Regions from separate parts of the Homo sapiens genome. Here region 1 is linked to region 2. The links are contacts of gene promoters, found by promoter capture Hi-C in blood cells and fetal thymus (Javierre and others, 2016). All regions are on one chromosome and are shown on one strand. The core of a region is centred on a gene start or on the middle of the fragment in contact, and the rest is flanking DNA. Distances in the headings are between cores, read along the strand shown. Region 1 overlaps MYO1E (myosin IE). Region 2 holds the start of GTF2A2 (general transcription factor IIA subunit 2).

Region 1 (6,212 bases), core at 533-3,032, 420 kb after region 2:
TCCAACAAAAGAGACAAAATATTTCATGTCTGAATACAGTATTAACCAAAGACACAGTGGGAGGATTACTGGGATTACTGTCCTTTTATAATTCTTTTTTAAATTTAATAAATTCCCCTTTATATATATTATTTTATAATTCTTATAGGGTTTGCTCACGCTTGCTCTCTCTCTCTTTCCCAGCTTGTTCTAGTAAAGTTTAAATGTGACAGTGTAAACTTAAGGAAAATATACATACTTATGGTGATATGTAGGAAGTTGAATAATAATAATGTAATGAAATTGATCAGTGGTGATTATTGTGAGGTGTGATCCCTCCCTTTTCTCTGGAAAAGCTGTTTTAAAAAATCTGAAATACACAAATTTTAAAAAATAAAAAAAATATATATATATATATTTTTTGACACAGTTTCATTCTTGTTGCCCAGGATGGAGTGCAGTGGCACAATCTTGGCTCAATGCAACCTCTGCCTCCCGGGTTCAAGAGATTCTCCTGCCTCAGCCTCCTGAGTAGCTGGGATTACAGGCACCTGCCATCACGCCCAGCTAGTTTTTGTATTTTTAGTAGAGACGGGGATTCACCATGTTGGCCAGGCTGGTCTCGAACTCCTGACCTCAAATGATCCGTCCACCTTGGCCTCCCAAAGTGCTAGGATTACAGGCACGAGCCATTGTACCCGGCATAAAAATCTAAAAAAAATAGAAAATTATGAGAAAGCACATGAAAAGGAAAAAGAGCCAGGTGTCGTGGCTCACACCTGTAATCCCAGCACTTTGGGAGGCCAAGGCAGGCGGATCACCTGGGGTCAGGAGTTGGGACCAGTCTGGCTAACATGGTGAAACCCCGTCTCTACTAAAAATTAAAAAATTAGCTAGGCATGGTGGTGCACACCTGTAATCCCAGATACTTGGGAGGCTGAGGCAGGAGAATCATTTGAACCTAGGAGGTAGAGATTGCAGTGAGCCAAGATTGTGCCACTGCACTCCAGCCTGGGTGACAAAGTGAGACTCCATTTCAAAAAAACCATTCCTATACCAGCCTCCTAACAAGTAAGGAATATTTCTTTTTCCTTGTCAATTTGTTTTTGCCCATACATTATTTTCACATAGTTGTAAACTTGTTATAAATATAGTATCTTCTATTCACATTACCACTTAACTTAGGCTGCATTATCTTTATGTTGCTACATACTCTTTGTAAGTACTTCAAATGCCTGTGCAGTATTATATTGGGTGGTTGTGCCATTGTAAGCTTGGACTTTCCAATATTCTTGAATGTTTACATTGTTTACAACTTCTAAAATGGAGTTTCATTGTTGCCAAACCGTGTAATTCCAATGAGAGAGTGTGTGTGTTGACCCTGGATCTAGTAAATACATCATCTGAGTATGTCAACCATTTGAAAAGATAATTTCCCCATGGAGTTGAATTTGCCCGACCTAGTTGCTGCCTGTGAGTAAGCATGTCCTCTGGAAGAGTGTGACACCTCGTCCCAGGCTTGCTGGTTTTCTACTTGCTACTGTAGCTTACGAAATTTCAGTTTGGTTTTCTTATTCATGTGACCAGGAAGCCAGGAGCATAGCACTAGGATGGTGAGTGACTTGCATAGGTGGGTTCAGACTTTTGCAGGTCATGAGCTCTGAACAGAGGATGGTTCCCGCCTCCCCATAATTTCTTTAAAACCGTATTATTAGTTCAAGGAAATTCAGCAAAGTTCTGAGTTTCGCTATATGGCCAGCTCAATTCTCTGTTCATTTGTTTCTTTTGTTTTGTTTTGAAATGTAAAATTATTTCAAATTTCAGTTTCCTTTTGGGAATAGGAGTGTCACCTTGCTTGGTTGTTCCCCAAGCAAATGTTTTCTCTTTCCTTGAGTAACTCAGCAATCGATAACAATTAATTTGGGCTGGATATTCATAGAAGAACATTTGCTCTGCGCCCTAAAATTTTTTATCGCGAAGCGCGAACAAAAATATTGTCCTATGAACTTGTAGCAGTCTGCATTTTTCATACTAACTCCCACCATCATTTTATATGATATGGGGTTCTTTAATTCTATCCTGGTAACACAAAGGGTACCAATAGAAAGATGAAAAATCTGACTGACTTAAGCATGTTTTGAATTGAGGTCATTATCAATTCAGGGGGATTTTGTAGGAAGAATGGGGATTTTGAAGAGCAGACTATATATTATTAACAAAAGGCTCTCCCCATGCAGGAAGGCTACCCAGCGGAAGGTGGCCTTTGTTACTCCGGATGTGATTAATATTGCTTCAAGGTTTAATTTTAGAACTTCTAAAATAAGGAAGCTTGCATCAATTCAAGGCACATGGTTTGAAACCTCAGAGTGCCCACTTTTTCTTTTCTTTTTTTAAATTACAAAAATAGCATATGCATTATAAAATGTTTGAAAACTAATGAATTAAAACAAGTTTCTCTAGTCTCTGGCTTGACCAAAGCCTTTGTTAATATTTTGTGGTAGTTCCAGTCTTTTTTTTAAGAAAAAAAAATTGTAATCATGTTTTGTATATAACTTGAATGACTTATTTCACTTAACATGATTTCATTTGCTTGTTTCCTGTGTTTACAGTCTTCATGTCAGTTGTAATTTATGTAGAATTCCACCCTTGTGATACTCCATAATTTTCCTAATCATATCCCCCATTATTGGGCATGTAAAATGCTTAATGGTCAGTGGTGTGCACAGTGGTAATTATCCACACCATGTTAATCCGGCTCACACGGGTCACATGGGCGACCTAATCCTGCTGTAACTTGCCTTTCTCTACTGGTATTGTACTTAAAAAAAAAAATTCTTTTCTGCCTGTTTTTTTTGTTTTTTTGTTTGTTTGTTTGTTTTGTGTGATGGGGGAGACAAGGAAGGGAGCTGGTCGCAATCCACTTCTCAGGTGGATTCTTTGTCTGTCTTTCTTTAGTGGTGAAAGTGGTGCTGGAAAAACAGTGGCTGCCAAATATATCATGAGCTACATCTCCAGAGTGTCTGGAGGAGGGACCAAAGTCCAGGTGAGTGGGCAGTGGCCCATTATGATACCTTATGTTATGGGAAATGTAAGAGGCTCCATTTGCTGTTAGAAAAGAATTTTTCTTCCACAGAAAAGACACTGGTTCTTCTATAACTGTGAAACTTGAAATCTGGAATGGAAAGGAATAGCATATGTATGTGTGTTTGTGTGTGTGTGTGTGTGTGTGTGTGTGTGTGTGTGTGTGTGTGTGTGTGTATATATTTTTTTTTTTTCTTTTTTGAGACAGAGTCTTGCTCTGTTGCCCAGGCTGGAGTAGTGCAGTGGCGCGATCTCGGCTCACCACAACCTCTGCCTCCCGGGTTCAAGAGATTCTCCTGCCTCAGCCTCCTGAGTAGCTGGGATTACAGGTGTGCCCCACCATGCCCAGCTAATTTTTGTATTTTTAGTAGAGACGGGGGTTTCACTATGTTGGCCAGTCTGGTCTCGAACTCCTGACCTCAGGTGATCTGCCCTCCTCGGCCTCCCAAAGTGCTGGGATTAAGGAATAGCATATTTTAAGGTAGATGTGCCTAATATATAATGAACTCCTACAAATCAATAAAAAGATCAGCAGCCCAAAAGGAAAATAAACAAAGGACATGAAAGACAACTCATAGAAAAGGAAATATAAATTACTCACAAAACATGAAAGTATGTTCACCATCATGATAAGAAGAAAAATGCAAATTAAAACTGCATTAGAAAACTATTTTTTGCCTATCAGATTGGCCAGAATCTTACCATGTTTTAAACGCTTGATTGGTAGGAAGTAGGGACACAGTTGTTCTCATACATTGCTGGTAGGAGATGAACTAGTACATTTTAATGAAGAACATTTCAGCAAAATCTGTTAAACTTACACATGTATGCCATTCGACTCAGCAGTTCTGCTGAAAAGAATTTATTCTTTAGATATGCTGAAATGTATACAAAATAATACATGTATAAAGTTATTTCTGTCAATTTTGGTAATGCAAAAGACTGGAAACAACTTAAGTGTTCATCACTAGGCAACTGGTGAAATAATTTGTGGTTCTTTATATAATAGAATATTATACAGCAATAAAAATGAGGCTTCATGTACCGATTGTACTGATAGAGAATGGTCTCCAAGATGTATCATTAATTACAAAAGACAAGGTTCAGAACATTGTTTGTAATATATGCTGCCATTTGAGGGATCAAAAGAGAGTGCACATTTGTATTTGTTTGGGTATGTTATCACATATCCCTCGAAGTATACACAAGAAACTGTCAACAATGGTTGTCTTGAGGGAGGGGAGCTGGGAGGTTGGGAGAAGGGCCTACCCTTCCTGTATACCCTTTAGAAACTTGCATGGTTTGAGCTATGTGAACCACTTGCCAATTCAAGAAACTTATAAAAATTTTAAAGGACGTAGACAGAGAAAGGATTTAAGAGAAGGAAAAAAGAGAGATTAAAGAGTGTAAAGGAGTGTTGGGAAAGAGAAAAGATCCAGAGAATGAGGATACTCAAGAGGTGAAAATTAAAATCAGCATTGGCAGGAATGAGTAAAGCCTGCTCCCCAGAGCCATGGATGAGGGTGATGGCGAGCTAAGGTCCATAAGGGGCAGCCCAAGCTTGGCGCTCATCACCAGTATGCACCGCTGGTGACAGAATTCCTTCCAAAGATTAGTTTTTTAAATCAGAATTATGTAATGTTATTGCCATGGTCAGCTGTAGACTTTCAAAAGACACATAAAATTCTCTTTATTGTGGTTCCCTTTTTTTTTTTTTTTTTTTTGAGATGGGGTCTCACTCTGTCACCCAGGCTGAAGTGCAGTGGCATGATCTCAGCTCACTGTAGCCTCCTGCTCCTGGGCTTATGCATTCCCTTCCACCTCAACCTCCCAAGTAGCTGGGACCACAGGTGTGTGCCACCATGCCTGGCTAATTTTTGTTTGTTTTTGGTAGGGACAGGGTTTCACCACATTGCCCAGGCTGGTCTCAAACTCCTGAGCTGAAGCGATCCACCCACCTGGGCCTCCCAAAGAGCTGGGATTACAGGCATGAGCCACCATGTCTGGCCCCTTTCTATTAATTAAATAGTGTTCTATCATGTACTGGTAGATCAGAAAGCTTAAGGTAGAGCCAAACATTCCTCCTTTGAGTTTGTGGATCAACTCTTTCTATCTTTTGTTTGCGGGCCAGACGTGCCTATACCATTTAACGACAGCTTCTGTCAGGGAGAGAACAAAGGACAGAATCTTCTCTATCTCTTCCCTTCTTTAATTACAGACTTTAAAACTGAGAATATTTATGGATCCATCCATCCATCCATCCGTGCATCCATCCATCCATGCACCCATCCATCCATGCACCCATCCATCCATCCATCCATCCATCCATCCATCAGTGATCAGTGATGTCCAACAGAATTTTGTGGCATGTGGTGAGCATATCAGGGAAAAGAGAAAGAGCAAACTAAGGTTGCAGAGTGAAGGGTCCTTAAAGTGGCCTCTTTCTCTGAATGAAAGGAAGATGGAGAGCAGCTCTGTGCAGTAGAAAGATGAAGCAAGCCATATGTGTAATTCTAAATTTTCTAGTAGCCATGTTAAAAGAAGTAAAAAGAGAAAAAGGAAATTACTTTTTAAAACAGTATTATTTAACCCAATATGTAAAAAAAGATTTTATTATATAATTAATATAACAAAATTAATGAGATTTTTTTTTTTTGGTACTAAGTCTTTGAAATACAGTGTGTATTCTACAGTTACACCTCAGTTGGGGTAGCTTATGGCTTCCCTATTGGACAGTAAGGGCAGCTATAGAACCTAGGTTCATGTGGTTCAGTCCACTTGCTTTTCTCTATTCCTGTGATTGTACTGGATCCTGAGAGGGTTGACATGGAGACAAGAATCCAGGATGCTGTTTTGCTGCCTTTTTTTTTTTTTTTTTTTTTTTTAGACGGAGTCTCGCTCTGTCGCCAGGCTGGAGTGCAGTGGTGCGATCTCAGCTCACTGCAACCTCTGTCTTCTGGGTTCAAGCGATTCTCCTGCCTCAGCCTCCCGAGTAGCTGGGACTACAGGCGTGCACCACTATGCCCAGCTAATTTTTGTATTTTTAGTAGAGATGGGGTTTCACCATGCTGGCCAGGATGGTCTTGATCTGTTGACCTCATGATCCGCCCGCCTTGGCTTCCCAAAGTGCTGGGATTACAGGCGTGAGCCAC
Region 2 (6,980 bases), core at 1,815-4,314:
TTTATGTGAATGCTCAGGGAATTTGGACATGTGTTTTATACAGAAGTGGCTTTTTATATTTCTTCAAGTGATAAATTAGCATTAGGACATATCAGATAGAACAGGCCAGTTTCCTGATGAGATTGGTAGAGATGTTACGGTAGGTTCATCCTTCCTTTTTCCATGTTATATGTGGAGAAGTGTTAAACTTGCTCAAGCAAATGGGAGTAGGAGATAGGCTGAAAATAGAGATTGCTACACCATTCTATTTTGTTTTCATGCCTGTTTTTTCTCCAATCCTATATGGACATTTGAGAAATGGACCACAAATCTGAGAGGGATAGAGTAAAAAGAGGCATTAATGTATGTACTCACAAGTTAGACCTATTTTGCTGTTAAAATAGGTCTGGTCTTGTTATAGGTCATAGGAATTGTGTAGTTTGAGTTGCTGCGAGAAAGAGTCAAGAACTTAGACTTGAATGGGAAGGCCAACTGGTGAGGGAAGTGGGGTATTATCTACTCAAATGTTCTAAGCTAATACAAAAGAATTACCTGGCAAGCATCCCCCTCTGCCCTTCTTGAAATTCTGAATGAACTTAGAATCAGATCAATGGTGAGACCCAGTTATGTAACTTTCCTTTGAAGTTCTAAAGGATAATTGAAAATAAAGTAGTCTGGCATGTTTAACAGTAAGGAGTGACACTAAAATTTGAATATAACAGTATGTTGCAACTATTTATAATAGACCTATTTATGTTTTGAGAACTAAGTAAAATGCTATGAAAAATTCACATAAAGCACGTAAGCACCAAATGAAAATCATTTCGTGCTTTCAAATTAATGATACTAGGCTTGTAGGATGTCTTAGAATCATGTTTAACAAGAAGTTAAAATATTTGCATTTTGAAATTTTTATGCAGTTTGGCTAAGGAGGAACTTGGAAAATAACATTCATCAGCTTCTACACTGCACTTTTTGTATGTGGACTTTGTAAAGTTTAATGTCCGTTTAACAGTTGCTTGTTTATTTGTGTAAACCTAGCTAGTAAATATTGATGATGTTCAGGGCCACTGACTTGCACAGCCCTTGGAGCACTATTCACACAGAACACAATTCAGAGTTTGTTAAGACATTAACACACTTTGATATCTATTCCAAAAATACTTTTGTTACCACAGGTTCATTGCTGTCATTTAGACAAAATTAATGTACTGTGATATTTTCCTACTCTTAAGATGATGTTGCCCAGCCGAGTACTGTCAGAAATTCAGTTCTGATGTCTGTGTGTGCAAGATATTAATGTGGTCCCTGTAAGAAATACCAGAGTTGGTCATGATTTACTAAGGAGATGTAATATTTTCTTTGACCTGTTAGGAATATAACTTGTGTCTTGATTTGTTGCACATCATATTTTTTGCAACATTAATGAATTTAAATAAATTAATTGGAACGTTCGTCTTTGTCTTTTTATCACATTTTTCTTTCATTATGCTACTAAATTTTTGCTTTGAATTATCCTATAAACCTCTTAAATAATTTCAGACCTTTACACTTGTTTCCCTTTCTATAGTCTAAGTGCTTCTATTCTTTGGGGATTAGAGAGTTCAGCCTGCTTTATTTTAACATCAAAACAATAATGAAACTTTGTGTTTCATAGTTGAGATTTTTTTTTAATTAATGGGGAATCCAAGGATGAAACCATGAGTGGCTTAAAATGAAAACATGGCTTTTTTTTTTTTTTTTTTTTTTTGAGACAGTTTCGCTCTTGTTGCCCAGGCTGGAGTGCAATGGCGCCATCTTGGCTCACCGCAACCTCCGCCTCCCAGGTTCAAGCAATTCTCCTGCCTCCGCCTCCCGAGTAGCTGGGATTACAGGCATGCACCAACACGCCCAGCGAAATTTTTTTTGTATTTTAGTAGAGACGGGGTTTCTCCACGTTGAGGCTGGTCTCGAATTCCTGACCTCAGGTGATTCGCTCACCTCGGCCTCCCAAAGTGCTGGGATTACAGGCATGAGCCACCGCCCCTGGCCGAAAACATGGCTTAAATAAGAAGAACTTGTTTAGTTCATAGACCTGCTCAGAGGTTCCAGCTGATACCACTTGGTGTTTTTTGTGGTTTTGTTGTTGTTGTTTTGCACATACTCTTTAATCACTATTCAGCTATTTTGTAGGATAAACTGCTCTACACATGACTGCTGGGTTTAAGCCAGTTAGTGTACCATGCACCCTGACACCTAAAACAATTTGTGATTTTGCAAACTTGAAATTTATAGTGAAGTATTTATCTTGCATATTAGATGCAAATTTTAAATATAACTTCTCCCAAATTAAAGTTCTTCATGAACTGGTCACAAACTAAAAACTTTGCCTGCAGCCCTGTTTCGAGGGGTAAAGAAGATACCCTGCTTACCCTGCTATAATTTTTTTTTTTTTTTTTTTTTTTGAGACGGAGTTTCGCTCTTGTTTCCCAGGCTGGAGTGCAATGGCGCGATCTCAGCTGACTGCAACCTCCGCCTCCCAGGTACAAGCCATTCTCCTGTCTCAGCCTCCCAAGTAGCTCGAATTACAGGCATGCGCCACCACGCCTGCCTAATTTTTTGTATTTAGTAGAGACAGGATTTCACCATATTATGCTGGTCGCGAACTCCTGACCTCCGGTGATCGACCCGCCTCAGCCTCCCAAAGTGCTGGGATTAAGGCGTGCGCCACCGCGCCCGGCCCCTGCTATAATCTTTTCAGAATTCGTCTGCAAGGTCTTCAACACTGTTACCCTGAACACACTTCCGGCATGAAATATGAATGCCCTACATTTCTTAAATTGTGCATCTAACAATGGAGAAGATTAGTCTCTAAAAATTATAATTCCCTTAGGAACGATTTAGTAAACCTGGTGAATTACTCGAGCAGAGCGCCTGTCCACCACTTTAAGGCTTCAAGCTCCAGCCCGACGCCCCTCCTTCCCTCTCCACGCCCTTCCCTGACAAGGCTTGAGTGGCGGGCGAGAGCAGGGCTGGGCGGGGCCTCCCGTCCCTCGGGCGGGGTGTCACTTCCAGGTTCCGCGAGCACTTCCGGGTCGTCAGCTCAGTTCTGCGGTTTCTGCGGCGGCTGGAGAGGTGGTCGGAGAAGTAGGAACCTCCTGCCGGGCTCGTGGCGGCTTCTGTCCGCTCCGCGGAGGGAAGCGCCTTCCCCACAGGTAGTGGGTTAGGGAGGGCAGGGTTAGGGAGGGAAGCAGGGCCGCGCTCCCTGCCGCCCCCCCGGAGTCGGAGTGCGTTGGTGGGGTAGTCTCTGAGGGCCCTTCGCTCCTGGGATCTGCCCGTTACCGACCGTTGCCGGCAAGGCCCCGCGGCCGGCACCGGAGAAGGGCGGCGAGGCGGCGGTGATGGTCGCGTCCCGTGGCGGGAGGCTCGTCGTTCACGGGGCGCCCACAGAACCCACCTAGGGGAGGTCTTCAGCCCACCACCGTATTTTCAGCCAGGTGAATGTCTTAAAGCATCCACTAGCGCCCTGTGAGTTTTGCCGAATTTCGGAGAGCATTTTTTAAATGTCTCATTCCTGTGCTTTGTAGCTTGTTGTTTGAAGTCTGCCTTCCAACTTTCTTCGTGCGAACTCCGACAAAAGGAACGAATTTTAAACTTGGTGGTTTAATCAAAAAATGCTAGGACGAGTTACTTCCGAATTTGACTTCTAATTTTCTGAACTGCAAAACAAGAAGGGAACAATAAATTTCTGTGGCTGATACCACATCTAAAAGATTAGAACACTTAACAAGGAATTTTTAAAGAATGTAAGAACATTGAAATCAGCACTTTTAACAAACGTTTAACGCAGGGCTATTTTCTAGATAAACTCAAAAATTTGTCAAATGGGACACGATGCACGATTCTGTATTCCTACTCTGTGGAGTTTTTATCTACCTATTGGGACTTCTTGCCCTTTTTAACCCCCTCTCCCCTCCCACACGCATATTATACTTACTGATATTTGCCTTCGTTTACTGAACAGATTTTTTTTTGGCTCCTATTGTGTGCCAGGTACTGTTCTAGACGCCTATTTTACTTAAGTGAACAAAATAAAAAGCTTTGCCCTCATGGAGCTTACATTCTATTAGAGGATGCAGAAAATAAAATATATAATGGTGTTAGAAAGTGATGGTGCCATCAAAAAAAAAAAGAGAAATATAAAGGAGTACGGGAAAGTTCCAGAGTGGAGGTGGGAACTGGTATTTTAAAGATGACGGTGGTCAGTTTGAGCCTCATTTAGTAGGTGTTATTTGAGCAAAGACTTGAAGGAATTAAGAAAATTTGCTAAGTAAATATCAGGAAGAGCATTCAGGCAGATAGGAAAGCCAATACAAATGCTTTTAGGCCTGTCATGTTTGAGGAATAGCAAGGAAGCCAGTGTATCTGGAGAGGGATGAGCAAGAGTTTTGGGGGTGGAGGGACAAGAAGATAAAGTCAAAGAGATCATGGTAGCCGGATCATTGTAAAGGCTGATAGAAGCCATGGGAGATTTTGAATAGAGGAGAGGTATGTTGTAACTGAAGTTTTAGAAGATCACCCTGGCTGTGAGTTGTGATTAGAGTGTAGGGGTGAGTGTAGAAGCAGGGAAATCATTTAGGAGATTTTTGCAGTAATCCAGATGACGAGAGTGGCCCAGGTCAGGGTGATAACCGTAGGGATGGTGAGAAGTGGTTGGATTCTGAATGCATTTTGAAGGTAGGCCTTACAGTATTTGCTAGGAATTGGATATGGAGAGTGAGATAGAGGGAGTGGAGGATGAAATCAAAGGTTTTGCCCAAGCTCGTAGAAGTATGGAGTTCTTTAAGCCACGATGCAAAAGATAACAAATAGAGATGTTGAGTAGGCAGCTAGATTCAGGAGTGAGAAGTTCTATGCTATATGAATTTGGGGATCATCAGCAGTGGTACTTAAACCATGAGAATAAATGTTATCCGTAAGGAATGGGTGTAGACGGAAAGCAGCAGAGGCCTAAGGACTGTGTCCTGTGATATTAAGAGTTTAGCGAAAACGGGATCAACCAGCAAACAGTATTAAGAAGGATGAACTTGTGAGTTAGGACAATCCGAAAAGGGCAGTGTCCCAGAAGCCAAGGTAAGATCCTGTACGAAAGAGGAGGGAGTAATCAGCTGTGTCCAATATTCTGAGTGAGGCTAGAGAATTAGCTTTAGCATTGCCATTGATGACCTTCACCAACCTGTTTCCTTAGAGTGCTAGAGGCAAAAATTAGCTTAAGAGAAAATAGGAAAAAAGGAATTGGGAGACAGTGAATACAGACAAAACTAAGGGATTTTGCTGCAAAGGGGAACTGAGAAATAGGATGTAGCTGGCAGGGGATTTGGGTTGAGGGGTTTTTGTTTTGTTTTACTTTTTAAGGTGGGAGAAGTAGCCACCTATGTGTTTGCTAATGGAAATGATCCGCAGAGAGGGAAAATTTGATGGTGAGGGAGAGAAGTAACAACTGAATTGTCAGAACAATATCCTTGAGTGAATTAGAAGACAATGCCTGATACAAAGGTAGAAGGATTGGATTTAGATAAAAATAGGTATAGAGTTCAACTATAGTGACAGGGAGGGAGAGTATATGGGTACAGGTTGGGCATCCCAAATTCAAAATGCTCCAAAATCCAAAACTTTGAGCACCAACATGACACTGAAAGGAAATGCTCTTTGGAGCATTTCAGAGCTTGAATTTGGGGTACTCAATCACTAAGTATATACGATGCAGATATTCTAAAATCCAAAAGACTTCAGGTCCCAAGCATTTCAGATAAGGAATGTTCAACCTGTATAGCTATTGGTAGGTAGCTGGATGTGGCTGTGAGTCTGGAAGTTATTGCTGCAGTTTCCTCAGTGAAGTGTAATACTTTGTGTCATACTCAGATACATTTCTAATATATTAGCACTTTAACATACTACCAAGTATTTCACTCAACAGATACTTAATAGATACTACATACGTTGTTCTAGTTGGTAAATATGTAAATGAACAGAAGTCCCTGTCTTCAGTGTGTCATCTATTTTAGTAGATGGAGACAGAATAAGCATATATATGTTAGCTTCAGTTATTGGTATGAATGAAAATAAAGCAGTGTGAGGAAGAAGGAAGGTAATTCTTTCTTATAGGTTGATTATAGAAGGCCTTTCTGATGGAGTAATGCTTGACCCAGAGATCTGAATCAAATGAGAGAGTGAACTATGCAGGTATTTGGAAAGAATACTGTCAGCAAAAAGAAGAGCCACCACAAAGGCCCTCAAGCAGGATCATGCTTCCCCTGTCAAAGAACAGCAGGGGACCAGTATGACCAGAGCAGAGTGAGAGGGTGAGTGGGCGAAGATAGGGAAGTAGGCACTGGGGGGCCCAAATCACATAGGCCTTCCAAGCCATGGACTCTGTGGTTTTCACTGAGATGGGATGCTGCCATTGGTGGTTTTGAATAGACCAGTGATGTGATTTGCCTTATGTTTTAAAGTCTTAGTGTGGCTACTATGAGGGTGGGGTTGGGATAGGCAAGACTGGAAATAAGGAGACCATGAGTTATCACATTAACTTTAGTGACAGATGATGGTGACTTAGGGTAATAGCATTGAAGATGGTAGAAGCTGTCAGATTCTGGCTATAGTTAGAAGGACGAGCTGAAAGGTTGGCTGATGGATTGGATGCCAGGTAAGAAAAAGAGAAGTTACTCTTGACTCAGGTTTTTGAGCTGTTACAGGAAGACTATGTTTACTGTTACCGAGGTGGGTAAGACTGAGGACAGAGCATATTTGCAAGAGTAGCATCAGAAACATGGTTTTTGACAAATTGAATTTGAGCTACCTACTTGATATTTTTATCCAGTGTCAAGCAGGCAGTTTTATATATGGGTACAAAGGGAGAATTGAGGGCTGGAGATACAAATTTGAGAGTCATCACCAGATAGTAGATGGTATTTAAAGCCGTAAGTCTGGATGAGGTAACTAAGAGAGTAAAGTATGTGGAA

What was found. Contacts are between HindIII fragments. The CHiCAGO score rates a contact against its expected background, and 5 or more counts as called.
Region 1: a fragment that was not itself captured here is called in contact with the fragment with the promoter of GTF2A2 in region 2 in 1 of 17 cell types (naive B cells); the score reaches 5.2 in naive B cells.

The regions. Positions count from the first base shown.
Region 1 is chr15:59,233,395-59,239,606 of GRCh38, reverse strand. It overlaps MYO1E (myosin IE), which reads left to right. Exons shown (of 28, transcript NM_004998.4): 5 at 2,935-3,022. Among named protein-coding and RNA genes, the nearest start is that of LDHAL6B, 30 kb to the right of the region's middle. The HindIII fragment of the contact is 1,055 bases long and covers 1,255-2,309 here.
Region 2 is chr15:59,653,599-59,660,578 of GRCh38, reverse strand. GTF2A2 (general transcription factor IIA subunit 2) reads left to right here and starts at 3,064. Exons shown (of 5, transcript NM_004492.3): 1 at 3,064-3,173. BNIP2 (BCL2 interacting protein 2) reads left to right here. Exons shown (of 10, transcript NM_004330.4): 10 at 1-1,433. RefSeq lists an enhancer at 3,028-3,257. The HindIII fragment of the contact is 4,994 bases long and covers 1-4,059 here.